Linked DNA regions of Homo sapiens: all the other regions are linked to region 4. The links are contacts of gene promoters, found by promoter capture Hi-C in blood cells and fetal thymus (Javierre and others, 2016). All regions are on one chromosome and are shown on one strand. The core of a region is centred on a gene start or on the middle of the fragment in contact, and the rest is flanking DNA. Distances in the headings are between cores, read along the strand shown. Region 1 holds the start of CCDC39 (coiled-coil domain 39 molecular ruler complex subunit). Region 2 overlaps TTC14 (tetratricopeptide repeat domain 14). Region 3 overlaps CCDC39 (coiled-coil domain 39 molecular ruler complex subunit). Region 4 holds the start of DNAJC19 (DnaJ heat shock protein family (Hsp40) member C19). Region 5 overlaps TTC14-DT (TTC14 divergent transcript).

Evidence for each region. Contacts are between HindIII fragments. The CHiCAGO score rates a contact against its expected background, and 5 or more counts as called.
Region 1: the fragment with the promoter of CCDC39 here is called in contact with the fragment with the promoter of DNAJC19 in region 4 in 1 of 17 cell types (naive CD8 T cells); the score reaches 6.6 in naive CD8 T cells.
Region 2: a contact is called between a fragment that was not itself captured here and the fragment with the promoter of DNAJC19 in region 4, in 5 of 17 cell types (naive CD8 T cells, total CD8 T cells, non-activated CD4 T cells and 2 more). The highest score is 10.9, in naive CD8 T cells.
Region 3: a contact is called between a fragment that was not itself captured here and the fragment with the promoter of DNAJC19 in region 4, in 3 of 17 cell types (total CD8 T cells, naive CD4 T cells and non-activated CD4 T cells). The highest score is 7.9, in total CD8 T cells.
Region 5: a fragment that was not itself captured here is called in contact with the fragment with the promoter of DNAJC19 in region 4 in 2 of 17 cell types (total B cells and non-activated CD4 T cells); the score reaches 7.0 in total B cells.

Annotation. Positions count from the first base shown.
Region 1 is chr3:180,677,611-180,682,273 of GRCh38, reverse strand. It overlaps CCDC39 (coiled-coil domain 39 molecular ruler complex subunit), which reads left to right and starts at 2,785. Exons shown (of 20, transcript NM_181426.2): 1 at 2,785-2,983. The coding sequence starts at 2,894. CCDC39-AS1 (CCDC39 antisense RNA 1) reads right to left here and starts at 2,193. Exons shown (of 2, transcript NR_046725.1): 1 at 2,084-2,193. RefSeq lists enhancers at 2,284-2,333, 2,414-2,513. The HindIII fragment of the contact is 3,343 bases long and covers 365-3,707 here.
Region 2 is chr3:180,607,080-180,611,618 of GRCh38, reverse strand. It overlaps TTC14 (tetratricopeptide repeat domain 14), which reads right to left. Exons shown (of 12, transcript NM_133462.4): 10 at 3,854-3,971; 11 at 2,809-2,918; 12 at 489-1,989. The coding sequence ends at 1,077. Among named protein-coding and RNA genes, the nearest start is that of TTC14, 7.2 kb to the right of the region's middle. The HindIII fragment of the contact is 3,548 bases long and covers 376-3,923 here.
Region 3 is chr3:180,628,243-180,632,754 of GRCh38, reverse strand. CCDC39 (coiled-coil domain 39 molecular ruler complex subunit) reads left to right here. Exons shown (of 20, transcript NM_181426.2): 14 at 1,163-1,286. Among named protein-coding and RNA genes, the nearest start is that of TTC14, 28 kb to the right of the region's middle. The HindIII fragment of the contact is 2,409 bases long and covers 1,755-4,163 here.
Region 4 is chr3:180,988,210-180,992,403 of GRCh38, reverse strand. DNAJC19 (DnaJ heat shock protein family (Hsp40) member C19) reads left to right here and starts at 2,668. Exons shown (of 6, transcript NM_145261.4): 1 at 2,668-2,804; 2 at 4,175-4,194. The coding sequence starts at 2,802. The HindIII fragment of the contact is 8,604 bases long and covers 1-4,194 here.
Region 5 is chr3:180,587,851-180,592,401 of GRCh38, reverse strand. All of the region lies in intron 1 of TTC14-DT (TTC14 divergent transcript), which reads left to right. Among named protein-coding and RNA genes, the nearest start is that of TTC14-DT, 12 kb to the left of the region's middle. The HindIII fragment of the contact is 2,432 bases long and covers 840-3,271 here.

The DNA.
Region 1 (4,663 bases), core at 1,536-4,035, 310 kb after region 4:
AAACATGGCCACTATTGTTAAGTGAAAAGAATGGATTTGCAGAATAATATTTACTATATGATTATATTTATGTAGGACAAAATTGACATATGTAAATATTTATAGCTTCATTTAAAAATGCTGGTTAGGTAAACACTAAACAGTGGTACTCTCTTACAAGTAGGATTGGCATGGAGGTGAAATACATCTTTTTCTTTTACTTCATACATAGAAGTATTTTTTCTACATTATTTTTGCAGAACAAATAAACTTTATGTTTTAGCCTGCGCAACTTGATTTGGTGAATTTAAGGGAATAAGACAGTAAAAGGGTAACATCTTCTTTAGCATGTTGGAATTAAATTGAGCATTTCAACAACAAAGCTTATAAAACTATGGGTTTTGTTTCCAAAGCTAGATCTGGATGAATGCAAATAGAGTTATGGTCTAGAACTTGTAGAATTCGAGTGGGAACTAGGTGATACGAGATTCTGTAATGAGATACCATTTTAAGGCAGAATTGTAGAATTTGGAGAAAGCATGGGCATTTCATCTAGAAGTAAATATCATATAATTGTTATCCTCAAATTCAGGAAATGGAATCTTTGAGAAATGAGACATGGGATTCTCAGAGCTTCAGTTGCTAGACTTCTTATGCCCGTGCGGTATAAGGGCATGGAACTTACCTATGTAACTGTTTCTGTAGGACGTATTCCTAGAAGTAAAATTAATGGAAAGATGAAAAAGACTCCACAGTCATGCATTTGGCAGCTACAGCTGACACTGAGAGGGGTGCTTCAACTCATTGGCACAGGTCGAGGCAGCTCAGTATTCATATTAAAAACTGGGATGGTAAATTAGGTAATTTTAAGATACATGGGTGATAATACCAATTATTTTATTTTTACTTTTTGCTGTATTAAAAGGTAATTAAATGTGATTGGTTTCCTTAGCTCTTGTGAAGGTATTTTCGTAGGTGAATAGTTTTGTTCCAATTGATGTTTCTGTGAGGGCTGATTGCTGGAAGTCTTGTTCTGCCATTTTCCTCCCCACCTTTGACCCAACACCAATAATTTTAGAAAGCAGCATTGCCACAACATATCCCAAGTATAAATAACTATGTACCATCTTAACATAAGCTGAATACTAACATTTTCATTAGTTGGAATGACTAAACTATTATAAAATAAGTAATGATCATTTATAAAGGATTAAATGTCATTATATCTAAAATTCCACTATTACATGCAGGTCAAATTTCTTCTACAAGTTGAGCCTTTCTCCCCAGCCTTTAATCATTGTAGAAAGGGGGAATAAAATGCTTTGCTAATTCTAGTCTTTAAAGGCACTAAGTCCACAAGATTAAGTTTATGGAAAACAATGTAGGCACAAAGAGACAAAGCTCCTACAGGAGGATTTCAGAACTATAGTGACAAACAAATCGACTGTAAAAAGACATTTTTAGGACAGTCGAAATATGAATCTGAAATGGTTATTAGATGATATTGAAGAATAGTTGATTTTTATAGGTGTGATAATGATATTGTGCTTATGTTAGATAACATTAACCACTCTTCTACCAATACATGCTCATGTATTTAGGGCTGTAATGTCATGATGTCTATGATTATTTTTTCACTTGAGCAAAAGATACAGATGATGCTAACATGGCAAAATATGAATGCTAAATCAAGGTGATGCATATATAGCAGTTATTTATACTCTGCTTTCTATTCCCATATACATTTAAAATATTTATAATAAAAGTTTAACAATGTCTAGGTAAAATAAAATTCGAAAGAGCAAAAAAAATTACAGATGATTATTGGATACGTAAAATTAATTCATGCACAGCATCCCTTCTTTAATCACTTTGCCTCAAGGAGCCTCGGTTTAACTTACCGAGAAAATGAAAGGATTAGATTAGTTGATTGTTTTGTCCTTTCCAGTTCTGAGATACTATACAAGAGAGACTATAACTCAAATGCCTACCCGTGCCAAGCAGGTAATTCAAATTAGTGAACTGGTAAAGTGCTTTGTTGGTCTAAAGGGGGCGCCTCTCCAGCGGAACATTGCCTTTTGATAATGGGGATTGTGTCACCTACCCTTTTTCAAGCAGAGGAAATACAGACGTTTATGCGAAATTCCACACTTTAAATGTTAGCAAACAAAAATGCAAAGAAAAATGCAAGTATGGGAGTGGTGCCGGAGGGACCACCACACCGCGCCACAAGTGTGCGGCCTCCGCGCGGTCCGCGTCTGTGATCGACTGGGACATCCGCGATGGGGCCGGTGAGTGCGGTGAGGAAGGCTGGCCGACTGAAACAGGCGACGATCAGAACATCCCAGTGATGCCAGAGAGAGAGTTGTTTCCAAACACCAGTTCACTTCGGTCTACTTTCACCTACTGTAGTAGCTGAAATCTACACAACACAGCAAACACACCTTGAAAAGAAACTTAGTTTATAATCCCTGTTGGCTCCCGTCTTCCCCCAGGCAATCGGAGGATCGTGTGGTTTACTTCCAGCCAGCTGCCCCGTGGTCCTCCAGCCAGCTCCGGGGGCCACAGTTTTCACACGCTCCGGGAGCGATCCGAGAGCCGCCTTTTCGTGGAAAGTTACGCTGCCGCCTGGCAACCCCCGGGAACGTCGGGAGGGGCAAGTTGCTGCTCATCCCTCAGTGCTCAAGGTAAGAAAAAGATTCTTCGGCCTGCAGGCAGGGAGTTCTCAACCGGAAGTTTCGCCTTCGGGCTGGAGCGTTTCCTGTTTGGTAACTAAGGACGCGGGAAGGTTGCTAGGGCTCCCCCGGCAATTGCCGCGGCACTGTGCAGGTGCCTGGGCTTGACGCGGGTGCTGCTCACCCGCTGTACAAGAAGGCGGATCTTTGCTCTGTATCTTCTCTATCCGTTTGCAGTCATGAGTAGCGAATTCCTGGCTGAGCTGCACTGGGAGGATGGGTTCGCCATCCCGGTGGCGAACGAGGAGAACAAGCTACTGGAAGATCAGGTGAGATCAATTGAAGCAGGCGGGAGGAAGCAGAGAGAGCCTGTTGGGGGCGTTTTCTGGTTGGCAGTACTACCCCAGCCCTTTTATTTCTCTCCTTTCCTAATCCTGTGCTTCCTCTAACACTCCCCCGCACCATCGCCCTCCTCCCTTACCCTCTCTGCCTATTTCAGTAATTGTTAAGCATTTAAAAATGCTATTAAAACCATAATTGACATTTAGGGTTATAAAGCTCGAATTATTACTCCCTTCCTCATGCCCACTCCTCTTACTTATTTCGTTCCTCCTGGCGAGAGAGGAAAGGCTGGTTCCGGCGCCCGCTTTTTCCTTGCTCAAAAATTAAAGAGCTACTTGGAAAAGAATTTCTGAGGTTTGCATAGCAACGGTTATTTGCGCACGTTTATAAATTAAACTCCAGAAGGTTCATATTTCTTTGTGAGTTTTTGTCTGTAATGTTTAAAGCTGAAAGTGACTTGAGATGTTTTCAAGAGGAACAGCCCGGTAAGAATGAAATGTGCGGTTTACAGTTTTTCAAAGAGAAGATTGAGTTGTCACAGATTAACATAAGAAATTTTACGTTGCAAGGACGAACTTACACTAACTACAATTCATAGCAGTTGTTAAAAAAAAAAAAATTGCAGGCCGGGCGCAGTGGCTCACACCTGTAATCCCAGCACTTTGGGAGGCTGAGGCGGAGGAACCCTAAAAGCCAGGAGTAAAACAAGCTTGAACAACAAAGCGAGACCCCCCACAAACCCCTCCCACCGCGTCTCTACGAAAAAATAAAAAAATAAAAAATTGCAACCGGGTCAGCAAATTTTGAAAAACTTTGGTGGTGATATGTTGTGTAGAAGAAGGTCCAAGAATAACAGATGATGCTTACACAACTTTGTAAAACGGAACAGAAAGTTTTCTCAGCTCTAAAAAAGGAAAATGAAAATCCTGTTACTCTACCTTTTGAAAACAATGGAAATGCTTTTTAACACGTTCTGACCTATTTACTCATGTGTAATTTAGAAGACTGCAATTTTTCCCCAAAGGAGGGCAATATTAGGAAATGTAAGGGATCTAGCACTGAGTACCGAGGAATTAATACTAAGTATCCAGCCCTGGGTTCAGATCCTACTTACCAACCCTAATCCTGCTTCTTTTTTTGTAAAGCGGAGATGGAGATGAACAAACTAATTACTTCGCGGGCTCTAGGGACATAATATGGGTTAAGGTTCCATCCAAATTTTAGGTTTTAGTATTCTTGCCATAATATGTGTCACACAGGATTTTTATGTACATATTAAGTATATTAGCTCTTTTAAAAAAGTATAGAGCCATATAAAGAAGAAAAATGAGCACCACAATTGCATTAAATTAAATTGCTTTTTAAACTCTGACATTTAAAAAGCAACTCCTGTAAATTTAAGATATTCAAACAGAATAGAAGGGTATGAGATAAAAACATAAGGTATTTCCTCTCCAAAGTGTCCACTGTACTGTAGAAATGATTACCATGGCATTAAACACACATTTCAGACATCTTGGTATACAGATATACAGAAAGAAGAGAAAAATGAGTATTATAATGGAATTATATATATGCGGTATTTAACACAAAATATTTATTTTAGTATTTGAGAGAAGAAAAAGCAGTTGTTGAATTTCAGGTAAATATTACTTGATCACAAGAGG
Region 2 (4,539 bases), core at 900-3,399, 380 kb after region 4:
GATCTTTATAATCCAAGTCTCTTTGTTCTTCAGCTCTAGCTGCTGGAATTTATTATTCTTAGTAAAACCAGGCTCTAGTTGGTCTAGTTATTTATTCAGACTCTGAGAAAGGGGTCATCAGAGAAGCATCAAGGCACAGGAGGTGGTAAGAAGAAATGCAGGTCAGATTTAACGACATGCCTAGTGCCTTCTGGACTGAACATCTGCTACACTAGGAGAGTCTCCCAATTTTCTTTCCCTAAAGAAAAGCCAGATTTACAATGTGCTTCTCTGCTACTGCTATGTTTTTGCTAAAAGGATTTTTTTCTTTTCTGATTTACCCTTGCGTGGAATACAGGCCCTAAGGGCCTTGTAAATATTTAAAGTTAAAAAGCTTTTTATGGCTATGCTAGCAATGAGGTAAAAAATAATGGAGAAATAAGCAAAATGGGCTCCTATTCAACTTTTATGATCTTATTCCTAAGGCACTTATGCTGGGTGGAAGCCAATGACTGTTCACAAACCACTTTTAATCAAATTGGGCTTTAGAGGAAAATTAAGACATATAATCTACCATTTAAAAATTTTAAAAAAAATTGGGCAAAAAATGTAATATTTAAACTGATAAATATAAAAGTGTTCAAGAAACATTCGAACATATAATCTTTCAAAAGCTGACGATTTTTAATTTAACAGAAAAGAAAATGAAATTAATTTTTATAAAAATGATCCAAGTGTTCAATGCACAAATTTTTCTCTCAAACAGCAGAATAAGATGCACCCAGGAATTCTCATATACCGCAATAGAATGAAGAAACAGTACTTTCAGAGAATTATCTTTAGGTGAAGAAATTCAAACTGTCAAGAGTAATATACTGTACATAAACATATACATAAAAAGTCTAAAAACCAAGCTGTGACAAGGGACCTAGAACTGAAACAAAATTTGAGAAAAACTTACTTAAAAGCATTTGTTTCCTGTAATCTCTACAAATAATTTTAGAAGCAGAGATTTCTGCACTCAACTGTTATGACTAATACAACCAAAAACTTCACTTAATGGCATTTTGTGTAATGGTGCCGATATCCTTGGTGTATTAATTTTTTGACTTATTTCCTTTTTCTTTTTCAAATTCAGCTATCTGATTAAATATATTCAGTAAATTCTGAGGTAAATTTTTCTTAACACTGCTTTCTGAGTGTTCTTTGCTACTTAGTGCATCTTCTTCTGGAACCTCTGTTTTGATATCCTCCCCATAATTGTCCTCTCTTTCATATTCTCCTTGATTTGTATTTAAACGGTATCTTTGCTCATGTCTACTGAAATCACGTGATCCAGAGTGAGCGTATTTTTTGTATTTCTCAACTGACTTCCAAGAGTATTCTGAGCTTGCTGGTGAGGTAGAATGCCTCACAGAACCTGGTTCCCACCTTCTATAGTGCTCTTTTCTTCCCTCTATATCCTTTTCAAATCTCCTATAACCATAAATCTTGTCCTCTGAATTCCTACAGAAGGAATCTGAGGAATTTCTTCTACTGGAAAAATGTCTTTCTGATTTATATGGCTTTTCTGTTTTGCTACTACCTGCTTGGGTTTTATAGCTGTTATAAAAATCTCTTGGATCTTCAGACCTACCTCCAAAATCATCCGGTATTTCAAGTGAAGATGAAGAGAGAGGGCATCTATCTTTCTCTTTTATCTGTGTCTTTTCATACTGTAACCTATCCTGCTTCCCCAGTAGTTTCTCCACTTCTTGTTTATGGTTAAGAAAAGATGCTGAAGTATTAGCTGGAACTGGGTAGCACTCATCTTTCCTATTCTGATCTATCTGATTTGAGGATGCCCTAGATGAATGCCTTCTGGAACTGCGAGAAGACTCTGAACGGTTCCTCTTATGTTTCTTATGCCTTTTGTGACCAGAAGAGGAAGAGGATGATGATGAAGACACTGATTCATCAGCAGAAGAAACACTTGAAGAAGAAGTTGATTTTCTTCTTTTCTTCTTTAGCCTAAAAAAAACAGTTCATTTGTCATATATATACAAAAATGTTTCTAAATTATTCATAAAGATGTGGGCCCTATTTGTTTCCTTTAAAGATTTTATAAAAGCTGTGGTTCAGATAAATGATACAATAATCTCGGCTACTACAAGATCTAATTTTACTATTAAGCACTTTTGGGGGAAAAAATGCTTGCAGACAGGTATCATTGTAAGCAAATCCATCATCTCTGAAAGACAGACTTTTTTCAACACTACCTTAAAAACTTAAGACTACTGAACACATAAAGGAGAACTCAACTTTTTTATTTGGCTACCTCTAGTTCATGGTTTCTTCACCTGATTATTGGTATTTTCAGCCAAATAATTCTTGGTAGGGGGTGGGGGTGCGGGTGGGAGCTGACCTGTGCATTACAGAATGTTTAAGAGCATCCCTGACCATTATACACTAGATGCAGTAGCACCCTATCAGTTATGGCAATCAAAAATGTCTCCACATCTTGTCAAATGTCCCCGGGTGAATAAATCCACCCCTAGTTGAGAACCACTGCTCTAGTTCTAAAATATTTCTTCCTAAAACATAATTAAAGTAACTTATTCTATATTTTAATTCTAAGATACTCTTTTTTTGTAGAATTCTAGCCTTAAATTCCACTTCATCTCTTTAATAAGAAAATACATGGAACACATATTTGCTAAAGATTCTTAACAGTCACTGATTGGCACTTGAAATACTTTCATATTTTTATTTACTTTACCTCCAGTATGGCACTTTGGGTTCAATTCAGTAGTTGCCTTAAGTTTAAAAATACTGAATATTATAGTTTACCTCTTCTCTTCTTTTAAGAGCTTACGCAACTTTTCTGCACTTGTTTCTATTTTCTTTGTTTTCTGCTTTTCTTCCTTTTCAGCTTGTTTTTCTCTTAATTCCAAAGATTTCTTTTAGAACCCAGATATCGAAAAAAACCACACGTTAAAAATAGCAGAATATATAAAACCCAGTATTCAAAAGACCACCCCCAACGAGAAACCCAATTTAGTAAAACCAAATCACCATAGAGCCAGCATTAAACAGTATTTTTTTAACATAAAAAAATTAGTCATACAGATGTTTGGCATTAGTCATTGAAATGGCCAGAACAGCATTGAGGACCATATTGCAGTTGGTATCCCATAAAAAAAGGGGAAGCCATTGCAGTGGTACCCATGACCCAGAGTGCAAGAAAGGTTAAAAAAAAAAAAAAAGTACATAAAAATTATTTTTAAAGATTGAAAAATTTAAACAGGACACATTTTACAAATAAAATTCAAATAAAGACATTCCGTTAAGGTGAAGTGAAGGAGGAATCACCATGTTCAAATACAAACCATTTAAAAAAATAGCACAGCCCAGTTGGATGCATGATTACATAGGAAATCATTTTCCAGTTTGTGGATGGGGATGAGCAGCACCAGATGTCACAGACACAGCAGCAATGGTCCAATTCAGAAGAAAATGCATGAGAAAACATCATCATCAGTATTACAGGAAAAGACAATTTAAAATATGTCTCAAAAAGGTTTTTATAATTAGCTCAATTATAGTAGCAACAATAATTTAAAAACCACCAGGTGAGCTCCCTATAAGGACATTTCTCAAAACAACATACCAAATTTAGGTAATAGTTTTCTCACAGCTATCTTTACTTTCGATTATGGACAAAAACAGAGGCACTATGAAGCAATGTCAAACCCAATTAGGAAAAACTATACCTAAAAAGAAACTTTTCATAATGCCTTACTTAAGTAATGTAGAATAGTTTTCCTCAGGAGAAAATTAAGTTTGGGCATTATTTCAAATATCACTAAATTTCTAAGAGGAAATAAGGAATCACCTGCATATATTTATGAAGTTTCTGCAAAGCATCCTCTGCATCTTTAAAAGTCTCATCCAAAGCCAAAGCTTTCTTATAGTAACTTTCAGCATTTAAAAACTTTTCTTCTTCTTCTAACCTAAATTTGAAAGAAAGATTTAGCTTTTTTGTAAAAACAACAAAACTATCCAAATATGCATACAGGTCAAAGGCTTATATGAGAGAGCTTATTAGGGAAAAGCCAAGTAAATTATTTTCCAAAATAAAATACCAAAATAATATGCTTTTTACTGTAATTTATTTCATAGACCACATAAACAGAAATCTTACTAGTAACTAAAGGTATATGTCCAATATTGGCACATTTTTGCAGTAATACACAAAAACCCATGATAAATGGGTGTCCACAAATTTAGTATGATCTTGAATTTTAGCACAGAATTATACCAGCAGGCTTTTTTCCCTAGTAGTTTATGAAAAATTATCTACAGAAAATTTTGGAAATCTTTGGAAATACCAACATACACATATATCACAATGAGCCTGTAAATAGCATAATCATTAGATGAATTTCACAAGTCTGGGTTGTGAAACACCAGAATGAGAAAGTTTGGACATAAAGCAGTCAAAAGATGTTGCAAAGTGCTTTGGGTTCTTAGAAGGAAAAAGAAATTACTATAAAACAAATACAATGGGATCACTTTTGT
Region 3 (4,512 bases), core at 1,710-4,209, 360 kb after region 4:
TGGTCTTCCGTGTGTGTCTATTTTTTTTCCGTTAATCTTACCCCATCTGTTTTCCATGAATTCATGAAAAATTATTGTACCTTTCTGATTCTCAGAACTGCTATGTTGCTGTTTTTTTTAATCTTTTTTTATTTTAGAAAGGAAGAGTAATATACTGTGCTTGGTCCACAATCTTGAAGTCCAGCAAGTTTTTATGATCACATAAAGGATGAGTAAATATTTTCTGAGGAAATGAGTGATAATTAAAAATAAGAAAAACTGTAACTTATGACACTAAATATATCTTACCATGAGTTTTCTCTAGCAGTAGAAAAACTGGTAGGTTGAGGATTTCTTTTTCACCATGGTTAGAGAGCTTACTTGCATGAGTTTGTAGCAGGCAGTTGAGGCACTCTCCATATTGCCAGGCATATATTAAGATTACTAGTATTAAGTTCTAAAAAATAGCTCATAAAATATAAATTTACTGAAATAAAAGGAGAAAGTAACCAACAGATTTAAGAATCTGAATTCTGGAAGACAATTCTCAACCGCCCTGTTTGGACTATCTTTTTAAAGACGTTTGAATAGCAAACAGCCTCAGAAACTAGAGGTAGTATCTCCTTCTGGAGCAAAAGTTAGGCATGTTTGCTTATTTCCCACTATAAAATATTTGGGTTACCTAGGCTTGAGATTCCTCAGCTGTGATGCAAATCTACTGTTTGCAGCATCCACTTGAGCCCCTTCTTGCTCCCATGGGATGTAGGGAGCAAGGGGAGCCAGTCAAACAGGAATCTTATGCTTCTTGCTGTGTCATGAGAAATAAAGTCCGTTGTCTCTGAAACAGGGATTGTGTCTTCTGCCAGCAAAAGACACAATGAAACTGTGGCAGGCTAACTTGTCAGCTTTCAAGTAGGGTAAATATCAGATCCTTCACACTGAATTATTAAATTAAAACGTGAGAACAAATTTAATCTGTTTGAGTTTAGTAGTTACACAAATCCAAATGTCTTCAATAAGAACACCTGATAGTCTTTTTATTAAATTAAAACGTGAGAACAAATTTAACCTGTTTGAGTTTAGTAGTAACACAAATCCAAATGTCTTCAATAAGAACACTTGATAGTCCTTTAAAAATTGTAAAGTATGTTATTCATTTCTCAGTGTTTCTTTTTCTTATTAGCACTGAGTTTCGCGAGCGGCTAAGTAAAATTGAGAAGCTGAAGAATAGATATGAAATTCTGACTGTTGTTATGCTGCCTCCTGAAGGAGAAGAGGAGAAAACACAGGCCTATTATGTAATAAAGGTAATTTTAATTGATTCACAGTTGTGATGGTATGAAATTTTCTTTGTTAACTCATTCATCATAATCCTCTGAATTTAAATAAAAAAACAACAATATTGCAACTTTCCCTCCATGAAATCTAGCAACTATTTCACTTAATTAGGGCCACTATTACACTTAACAAAGGCCAAAACATTCATTCCTAAATGGAGATACTGAAAGCAGTATTCATTCTATATACCTCTAGTCCGTGAGGTCAAGCACTGCCCTCTGATTCCCAAAACTTACTGTGAACTTGCTCCAGAAGTCTTCCTCTTTTGAGTTCAGGTCATTCTACTTGACCATTCTTTGACACTTTTTTCTTTTTGCTATTATTTGCAGAATGTCATTTCTCCTAGGCAAGATTCGTAATCTTTTTAAGACCTATTATCACTCTAAGTGTCTTTGGTATGCATGTGACAACCTGTTCAACAATTGAGGCTTAAAGCTTTCCTTTACTTCACTATAGCCACCCACTCTTATGCCACACCCTGGCTGGACCTTAGCATTTCTTGGAGCTACACCACCTCTGAATTTTAAACTCCAGTTTACCATTAGAGTCCTGGTATGGCAGCTGTTCAGAGAGGAAGAGGGCTGCTTCCCTGCCCATATATCCCTATAATATGATATTATAGGGAGACAGACCAGGTGAATCTGTTTTTTTCTGATGTTTGACAGTTGTCTGTCATCCCATGGTTATCTTTAACCCAAAGGGGAAATTCATTAAGTGATGTGGAATTGAATGCTATTCTCTAAGCACTGCTATATTCATCTTTCCCATGTAGAAAATACCCTGAACAGGAGTAATTTCCTTTACAGAAAGGTCTAGGAAATTACTCAAAATGCTACAAACAAGGGATGGAACTTGTAACTTTGACTCACTTCCCTGTACCATACATGAATAGGGGTGAGATCATCTTCCAGTTCACACCTTCAGAGAATGGCTCTTGTGGATGCTCTCTCCCTTTGATTTCTACCAACTTAATTGGCCAAATTTTCTCCTGTAGCTCTTCTTCAAATCTGCCCCTAACAAATGCAGCAAGTATGGTATGCCTGTCACTTTGCTTGAAATTCTGCCTTCCCTATGAGAAATCAGTCCCAGCTCTCAAAACTTTCTTATAACTTGTCAGTCTGTAATACCTCAGGCTTCTGCCCAAACAGGACTTTTCTCCTCTCAGGTTTTAAAAGTTCCTGAAGGATAAAGGGTAGGCTCTAATTTTTTAGGTATTGGGAAATCGGAAGATGTTGCAATTCCAATTAAGTTTCTCTAACAAGTGGTGTGATGGGTTACCTAAAAGTACTGGTGTTAAGTGTGCCTTCATCCATATCCTACCACTGCTTCGGTAGGTGACCAGGAATAAGTTACTTAACCATGTGAGGCCTAAGTTTCCTCACTTGGAAAATGAAGAGGGTAATATTGTTACTTTTGTTGGGAGAAAAGAGAAAATACATGTAAAGCCCTTGGGACGGTGGCTGGCACAAAATGAGTCCTCAATAAATGTTAGTTATTATTATTACTGTGATGATGCTGATTAACCTAACTCACAGGAACACAGACAAGTTTTATATGAAGAAAGAATATTCCTTCTGTTTACAGTGAAAGTGCTGGATAAATATCAGAATAATGATTATGCTAAATGAACTGAGGCTATCAGTTACTTTCTCAATGTCCTGATGCCATATTTCTTATCTTCCATCTTCTCTGGGATCCACAGCTTGCCACGCAGTTATTCCCATTTTTTGTTGTTGTTGTTGTATAGCATGTTTACACTTTTTACTGGTAACACTTCACAAGTCTCAGATGTGTAAAAATGAAACTTAAATAATAACTAAACTCAGTCTAGCTTATATCAGGAAAAATTATGGCCTGAAAAATAGAGAAAAGCAAACCATGGGTGCAATGATGCCAGTGCATGGTGATACCAAGGTGTTGGCATTTTCTAGTGGGCCCTCCAGGTATTATCTGATTCTATAGGAGTGCAGACCTTCGACTCTCTATTGACTAGTTTATTTTACAACTCTGTAGGTATAGATGATAACTAACTTGCAGACAACTGATAGTAACGTAAGTGATATCTTGCTGCTAACAATGTAAATGAATTTTGGCCAGTAGAAATACAACTCTGCTCTGTAGAAAAGATAACCCAAGCACTGAAGTTTATTACACTAAAATATATTAATATGTTTTGCATCTACCAGCAAATTCATGTCAGCATTTCTGATTCAACATGTCTATAATATAAAATCTGTTTTCATATTCTTCTTTGAAATAAGTCTAAATATCTTACTGGCTCTTCATTAACAAGTTGAGTAAAACCTTTAATAAAAGTTCATTTCATATTTGTATAAGAATTTTTAACTATTTGAAAATAGTACCTTGGCATTTTCACTGCTGGGACAAACCTTGCCAATTAGAAGTTAAGTTTTGTTTTTTCAATGTAAGTCTGTTTTCCAACGTAGTGGATTCTGTTTGTTGATGTAGTAGATTTAGGATTTAAATTTAGTCAGTTCAAAATTTTTTCCCTTCCCTTATTCTTCTTATGTTATCTACAAAGGGATCTCTCCTGATGGATACATATATTATGTTTATGGCTGTGGGTAATAGGAATTTGATTACAATGCTAACCACTGTTGTGTTTTCTGAATGTTGTGGATGAGGCCTCAGCAAACTATGCACTCCAGCCAAATGCTGCCCACCACTTGTTTTGTAAGTAAGTACTGGAAGACAAAATACATACACTTATTCATTTATATATTGTTTATGGCTGCTTACATGCTACAATGACAGAATGAAGTAGTTTCGACAGACTGAATGGCCCATAAAGTCTAATTACTATTTGGCCCTTTACAGACAAAGCTTGTTGACCCTTTTTATTAGTTTCTAGGGCTGCTGTAACAAAATACAATAAACTAGATGGTTTAAACAACAGAAATATATGTCTCAGGCCAGGTGCAGTAGCTCACGCCTGTAATCCCAGAATTTTGGGAGGCCGAGGTGGGTGGATCACGAGGTCAGGAGATCGAGACCATCCTGGCTAACATGGTGAAACCCCATCTCTACTAAAAATACAAAAAATTAGCCGGGTGTGGTGGTGGGCACCTGTAGTCCCAGCTCCTCGGGAGGCTGAGGCAGAATGGCATGAACCCAGGAGGCGGAGCTTGCAGTGAGCCAAGATTGCACCACTGCACTCTAGCCTGGGCGACAGAG
Region 4 (4,194 bases), core at 1,419-3,918:
TTAAGGTCACCCTCCTAACCTTTCTGTTCCTCTGGAGCACAGAGCAGGAAAAAAAGGTAGAGAGAGGATCTGGGGAAAAGCAAAATACATCCAGCAATATAGCAAAGCAATATAGCAATATAGTGAAGTAAATGTTACTTTCACAGGGTGAAATGAAACAATCTATGTAAAGCATTTAGTACAATGTCTGGCGTATGGCTTTTAGTTGGTGGGGGAACCCCTTATTTGCCTGGCATTATAGTTCCAAGTGTGGATTTTTGCAGTGATAATTTCCAAACTTTAGGTGATGATCAATTAGTGGGCTGTGAGTTTAGTAGGTTTTCTAGCACTTATTTTTTTAAGAAACAGAAAAGACCAGCATGCATTTCATGAAGTAAGGATAAGTATTATCTCATAAATAAATCTACTATGTATATCTGTGCGTGCAAGTATGTATTTGCTCCTTGGGTCACAGTGTAAAATATATTTCTTACTAAGGATGACAGTCAAAAAATGTTTGAAAGCCACAGTGCAAGAACACTCTTAGCTACCGCTCTCAACTCTCACTTATTTCTTCCCAAGGAGAAGTGACTTACCTGATTTAAAAATTTGGGATGAGAAACTAAGAAGATGTGCTTGAGTCCTTTCTCATTCTTTTGTCCCTACCCCCTCTTTTGTCTTTTATTACTTTCTATAGTAAACTAAATAATGTGTTCCAAAGATTTCAGGTCCTAATACTTGGAACCTGTGAATGTTACCTTATATGGCAAAGTGTTGGAAACTATGATTAAGTTAAGGATCTTAAGAAGGGGAGATTATCCTGGATTATCTGGGTAGCTGGTAAATGCAATTACATATATCCTTTAAGAGGAAACCAGAAGGAGATTTTACAAACAGAAGAGAAGGACAATGTGAAGATGGAAAAGTTGGAGCAGAGTGAGATTTCAAGATGCTGGCTTACAAGACTGCAGTGATTCAGTCACAAGTCAAGGAATGCTGGCAGTCACCAGAAGCTAGAAGAAATGAGGAATGATTATCCATTCATCAGTCAGTGGACATTTAAAAAGATTACTTTTCAAGGCTGTTTCTAGGATCTTGGCAGGTAGGTAAGAGGCAACCAGACTTAAGATTCATGAGTGAGGTATCATGAGAATGAGGAAGGCTTCTACACTCCAATTTGCACTCTGGCTTCCCTCATAATAATAGCCCCACACTGAGTGATGACCATAAGCAGAACACAATATGTGCATAATCTCTACGTTCACAAAAACTCGGCAAGGTAGTTATCATTACCTTCATTTTACAAATGAGGAAGAAACTCAATCAGAAATAACTTTTCCAAGTCACAGTATTAGTAAGTGACAGAGCCAGGTTACCTCCAGTTTGATCTGCCACCAAAAAAAGAGCTATCTCCAGCTCAACAAAATGTCTTGCTGTGTTGCTACTCCCAATTTCCTGAGTCTGGGTTTTGTAAAGTCTCAAAGCTAATTAGAGTCTACTGTAAATCTATTCCTCCAGAAACTGCATTACACAGTTTGTACATACCAAAAATATGCATAATAAATTTTTCCAGATAGCATTCTAGCTTGTTGATGCCAATTTGGTCCCAAGGTCTTATGCCTCACTTGATTATTTATTTTGTAATTGTTGGGTAAAAACCAGATAAAAGAGAGGCAAAAGAGGAAGTTATAAACTTAATGCTAGTGTCTTAGTGCTGGATGTCACCTTAAATCATGTGTTGACAATAAATTACATCACAAAAACCTTAGCGCTAGAAGAGCTCTTGGATTATCAAATGCAAACTGCTTTTACAGATGAGGAAAACAAACCCAAAAATTTTGCATATTTGTTTAATAACTAACAAACTCATCAAAGCAGAATTGCATTGCAATGTAAACGGATATTTAACACTGTAAATTCTGAGTGGGAAGTAACTCCAAACTTATTTTGATCATGCAAACGTTGCATTGTAAAATTCCATTATTGTCTCCATTATTTTTTTCTTCTCAAGCATTTATGTAGGGATGTATGAAACTGATGTCCACGTAAGGGCAAAATCCAGCCCTACTTTTTATTTTGGGTGAGGAGGAAAACTTTTAAATAGCCCTTTTCAGTTGTAGGATCTTGACATTCCATGTTCAGAATATGAACTGTCTTTAATCCCATTCTACAAAACGAAAACCCAAATATTCACAAAGTCTTGTCAAGTCACATCCTTAAATGAAGTTCTTTTACATTAAAAAATGCTACCGAGCAATCCCTGAAACACAGTGTGGTTGGTTTCATTTGTTTTTCTGGGCATCTCGTTTCCTACACTGGGTTACAACATATTTGTTTGGGTTCGTGGTGGAAATGTCACAGCATGTTTAACTACATTCATTACCCTTGACAATTATTAACATAAAATAAAGGCAAAACGAGGTGCTAAGATGTAGGGGGAAAAAATCGGTCTGAGTAAGGCTGCCCATGCCCTTCCCTGCAAGAATTTCCAAATACCCACCGCCCAGGAGCAAAGGACAGAAAACACAGAGAAGCCCCACCCCTACACCCAGAAATAAAGAGATCCGCCCACCCTTCAACCAACCCGAAGTCGCTTTCTCCGCTCTGTCCACTGCTTGAGCGACTTTCCTTCTCCTCCGCGTCCCCTTTTACGACAGTTTTCCGGCCTAGTTTGCGGCTGCTCCTGCCGTGTTGCGTAGGGCGCCTGTGCTTGAGGTTGGGGGTTGCGTCGCTCTCTGGTAAAGGCGTGCAGGTGTTGGCCGCGGCCTCTGAGCTGGGATGAGCCGTGCTCCCGGTGGAAGCAAGGGAGCCCAGCCGGAGCCATGGTGAGTGCGGCCTTCCGGTCTTCTTGGCGACCTCCGGCCCAGGCCTCAACCTCAGCTCCCCGCCTCGGAGGTGTGGAGTTGAAGTTGTGCTCCTTAGTGCGACTGCGGGCGGGAGGTTTCGGTTATTGGGGAGTCACACTCACCAGGACACAACCCTGTTGGCTCGCTCTCTTGGGGGTTTGTGTTTTTACATCGTCTTTCTGCACGGTTCTCCAGCTTCTTGTCCGCACGGGCTCTGCAGGTGTTGCTTGCCTGGAACTCCTGTAAGGTCAGAGGCTGTCATGGACTCGGAGATTAGTGGAAACGTATTTGATTATAAGTGCCCTTGCCCTAACACATCTTCACAGCACTAGCTCCACTTTGCTATGTCCTTCTCTTTGGCTTTTGCTGACAGATGTCTTCTCCATGCTTCCTGAACATATTTGGGCCTGTCTTGTTAGGAAACAACAGGGCAGTGCCAAAGGTATTAGTCTCCTAGTTTAGCCCACGTTTAGCCTCGAAAATGCGTTGTTAGAATTTTACAGGAGCCGTCTGTAAACAGTTTTTCCTTCTGTAGCAGAAACCTTATTTCCACATTTTTTTTTTTTTTTTTGAGACAGAGTCTTGCTCGGTCGCCTAGGCTGGAGTGCAGTGGCACAATCTTGGCTCACTACAAGCTCCGCCTCCCGGGTTCGCCATTCTCCTGCCTCAGCCTCCCAAGTAGCTGGGATTACAGGCGCCCACCACCACGCCCAGCTAATTTTTTTTTTTTTTGTATTTTTAGTAGAGACGGGGTTTCACCATGGTAGCCAGGATGGTCTCGATCTCCCGACCTAGTGATACGCCCGCCTCGCCTCCCAAAATGCTGGAATTACAGGCGTGAGCCACCGCGCCTGGCCTATTTCCACTACTTTTGATTGAACTTTAATGTGACTTAATTTGTCTGGTGATGAAAGAAGTTTTCAAAGGGAGGGAATCATCTTTTTCACTATTGTAAAGATAAATAAGCAAGTCGAACTTGCCCTCTTTCCCATATGATGAATCCTGTAACTTTAATGCATTCAGCATAACAGATGCAGTAGTTTTAAAGATTACTGGACAGAATATTTCCGCCTTAAAAGTTGTTTCTCTGCCAGGCATGGTGGCTTATGCCTATAATCTTAGCACTTTGGGAGGCCAAGGTGGGAGGATTGCTTGAGGCCAGGAGTTCAAGACCAGCCTAAGCAACATAGCAAGACTCCGTCTCTTAAAAAAAAAAAAAAAAAAAGAAAAAAAAAAGTTGTTTCTCCTATTAAAATGCAGTTTGTAATGAGTTGGGGATGGAAGAATGGGCAAAATGAGAAAGGGTGGGAATTAGAGAAGTAAATATTTACTCTTCTCCCCCTTACCAGGCCAGTACAGTGGTAGCAGT
Region 5 (4,551 bases), core at 806-3,305, 400 kb after region 4:
TCCTACTGTGGCTGGTCTCTTTAAATGAATGAGATTCTTTACAGTTCCTTTAGTTGTAGTTAGAAAAGGGACCAGCCACAGAAGTCACAGGGGGAGATTGGCTGATCACTGTTTGGAAGTCTCAGTGTGGCAGTTCCATCAGGTAGATTGAGTTCTGGACACTGATCCTTAGTTTTTCAAGTGCAGAAATTCAAGTAAGGCTCGACATACTGATACACACTAACCAAATTAAACACTGATTTAGAAATCAAGTTGACAATGTATTAAGGGTGAACTGTAAGCTTGACATACTGATACACACTAACCAAATTAAACACTGATTTAGAAATCACGTTGACAATGTATTAAGGGTGAACTGTAAGCTCGACATACTGATACACACTAACCAACTTAAACACTGATTTAGAAATCACGTTGACAGTGTATTAAGGGTGAAGTGTAAGCTCGACATACTGATACACACCAACCAAATTAAACACTGATTTAGAAATCACGTTGACAATGTATTAAGGGTGAACTGTAAGCTCGACATACTGATACACACTAACCAAATTAAACACTGATTTAGAAATCACGTTGACAATGTATTAAGGGTGAACTGTAAGCTCGACATACTGATACACACTAACCAAATTAAACACTGATTTAGAAATCACGCTGACAATGTATTAAGGGTGAACTGTAAGCTCGACATACTGATACACACTAACCAAATTAAACACTGATTTAGAAATCACGTTGACAATGTATTAAGGATGAACTGTAAATGTTATGTGAATCAGAAACTCGTAGAAGTATCAATATATTCTCCGGTGGAAAGCCAACTTCAGTCAGAAGCTTGTTTGTGAGCCCAAAATAAGAACAAAAACAGCCTGTTGGGTATTTTTTAATGACTAATTTCATCAAACTATGTAATCTTATGCATTCATTTCCTCTGCATGTGTATTTCTTCTAAGACATAAAAAACTCTGCTTACCTGTCATCCTTTTCTTTCTCCCTTTAATCTCTCTTTCTTTATACACACACACACACACACACACACACACACACACACATACACACGTATATAATATATAAAATATACATGTATGCATATGTAAATATGTAACTGAATAATAGCAAATATATTGAGAATATGACTGCTGCTATGTGTGTATATGTTTGAAAACTGCTTTCAATTTTGTTTTAACTTTCTTAAGATGGAAGCCCAATATATAAAATAGACAGGAAGATACTGAGAACTCAACCAAGTAATATATTTTCCTTTTTGTTTCCAGCCCCCTCTCCCTCATACACAGCAAATGATGGCTGGAGAGGTTACCTTTAAGTCAGCAATCCCTAACCTTTTTGGCACCAGGGACCGATTTTATGGAAGACAATTTTTCCATGGACTGGGGCAGTGGGGATGGTTTTGGGATGATTCAAGTGCATTACATTTATTGTGCTCTTTTTTCTATTACTATTACATTGTAATATACAGTGAAATAATTATACAACTCACCATAATGTGGAATCAGTAGGAGCCCTGAGCTTATTTTCCTGCAGCTAGATGGTCCCCTCTGGGGATGATGGGAGACAGTGACAGATTATCAGGCATTAGATTCTCATAAGGAGCATGCAACCTAGATCCCTTGCCTGTGCAGTTCACAGTAGGGTATTCACTCCTATAAGAATCTGATGCCGGCTGGCTTGGTAAGCGGGGGTACCCGCGGGCCTCCCCAGACCACTGCGTCCTCCGTAGCCCACGTAGCCTTGGCACCGCGTGCTGTGGGGGTCCTAGGCCCTCCGCTGCAGGGCCGGGGCACCGGTGAGGCCGAGGGGCAGGAAGTCACCGCCCAGCCTGGCAGTGTGAACGTGCAAGTCGATCCCCTAACCCAGAAAGCCCCAGGTGTGGTCTGTACGGGCGGCCCTGCTCCTGTTTTATTTTTTCGGGACAGGGTCTCGCTCTGCCACCCGGGCTGGAGTGCAGTGGTGTAATCACAGCTCACTGCAGCCTCGACCTCCCGGGCTGAAGTGATCCTCCCCCCTCAGCCTCCTGAGTAACTGGGACCACAGGTGCACCTGGCTGATTTTTAATTTTTTTTGTATTTTTTTTGGTAGAGATGGGGGGTGTCTTGCTATGTTGGCCAGGCTGGTCTCAAACTCCCGGCCTCAAGCGATTGTCCTGTATCAGCCTCCTGAAGTGCTGGGATGACAGGCATGAGCCACTGCGCCTGGCCTCTTTTGAATGGGCCTCCTTGCGTTTCTGTTTCAATGCCTGGTGCTACTTTTTTGGGAGCCCCAAGGCTGTACTGTTTGACTCCTTTTTTCCCCCTTTCTTTTTAACCTAAATTAAAGCTGCCACTGAAGAGCCCCACCATGGAAGACACGCCGTTGGTGATATCAAAACAGAAGACAGAGGTGGTGTGTGGGGTCCCCACCCAGGTGGTGTGCACGGCCTTCAGCAGTCACATCCTGGTGGTGGTGACCCAGTGGGGAAAATTGGTATCTGTGACTAGGAATAGTCTCTCTGTGGTAGTCCATGCTTATGGGACAAATATCTGCATACTTCTTGTATTATGGTTCTTCAGGGAAACAGAACCAATACGATGGGTATATGTATATTTAGAAGGAAATTTATTTTAAGGAATTGGCTCGTGATTTAGGAGGCTGACAAATCAAAACATACAGAGTAGGTTGGCAAGCTGGAGACCAAGGAAAAGCTAATGCTGCAGTTTAAGTCTGAAGGCTATCTGCTGGTAGATGGCCCTCTTTCTTGGTGGAGGTCAATCTTTTGTTCTATTCAGGTCTTCAGCTAGCTGGATGAGGCCTTACCCAGATGATGGAGGGCAATGTGCTTTACTCAAAGTTCATCAATTTAATTGTTAATCTCACCCCCTAAACACCCTCACAGAACATTTAGAATAATGTGTGACTACATATCTGGGCACCGTGGCCCAGCCAAGTTGACATATAATTAACCATTGCAATTATGTCCTACTTCAATGCCATATTTTAAGACAATGAAGCCTATTTAAAGCATTACAACCCCATGATGGTGAAGCAGCTGGAAATCACATGATTTGAGGAACAGCTGAAGTAACTAGGAATGTATAGAAATACTGCCTTGTTTAATCTACTGGGTTTCACACTTAATACACAGCCAATATCTGAGTTGCATCATCATTTCTTACATCAGAGTTATAATATGAATGGTAGAGATTTCATAGTCTTTTGGTGTAAAATTGCTTTAAGTTCATTTAAAGGCCTTTATCAACAAAATTTCTAAGCTTATAATGCTTTTTTATTTTTCCACTTTCAAGTTCTAGAACTTAAAGATATTCCTTATCCTCCATGGTGGTTTCTGAAAAATAATTTATGTGTTGAGCACTGAGTAAAAAATTTGGGGTCATGCGATGACTGATTTTGCATGGGTCATTGACTCCAGGTGACTTCCTTTTCTGAGCTATCGAAGATCATTCCTAATTGTGGCAGCCTAGATTTTTGCTGTTACCCATTTCATGTCTATTTCTGTGGCCACATTTCACTTCTAACAAACAAAAGAAACACCGTTATGTTAGGAAAGTTGTTTGGCTATGTTTTTATTATTTTTTTCCTGAGACTTTTTATTAGCCAATAATCCAGAATTTATTGTATCCATTTTCATTGGAATCGTAGTGACAAGCATCAATATGAGAATTGTAACTCAGAAATTCACCTAACGTTTATTTGACTATCTCCTTGTTCCAAATAGCTGTAGGTGCTGGGAATTCAGTAATGAACAAATCATAGAAAAATCCCAGTTGAAAAAAGATAGTGTGAGTGGTTATTGCTGATGTTTTGCTTTCATCCTGAGAAATGTTCCTTAATTCTAAACCTATGGACTTGGATATGAAAGGAAAAGTATTCTGTTTTTTATAGCTTCCATCAGCTCCACAGAATAAAATATCTAGTACCCTTTTATGATTTAAAGATGTAGGGAAGAAAAAAATTCACAATAAAATAGTATAATTTCACAATAATAAATATCATCACCTTGACTATATCTGTATAATTAAAATATTTCTAAGCCATTGCCATTACCTTTTATTTCAGGCTGAATTAAAGATAACTCATTTTCTAAATTGCATAACAAAGTAGTCTCTGTAGGACCCTTGGAGCTAGTGTTGTGCAAACTGTATCAGTGAAATTTCTGTACCATTTACTAGGATATTTGTTTTACGGAATAGTCTTGGTTTACATAAACTCTTTTCCCAGCGTTCATGGAAGCAAGAGAGTTGAACTGGGATACAGATTTTCTTATGATAGATTATATTAAAAATGATTAAACAAAAATATGTTTTATATAGATAATACTAAGTGGATTGACAGCATATTGCTGCTGAGATTTTTCTTGGAAGTCTGTCTTTTACAAAACTGTTTGTCTTTTTCAAACATTGATGCCTTATCTGTTCTGAGAACTCATATGTGATATTTTTGGCATACTTGTCCATTTAGGTTGTATGCAGCTTTCAGTTTTCCTAAAACTCTATCATAGGTGTTCATTTCAGTTTCTCTAAGATCCATGCAAGA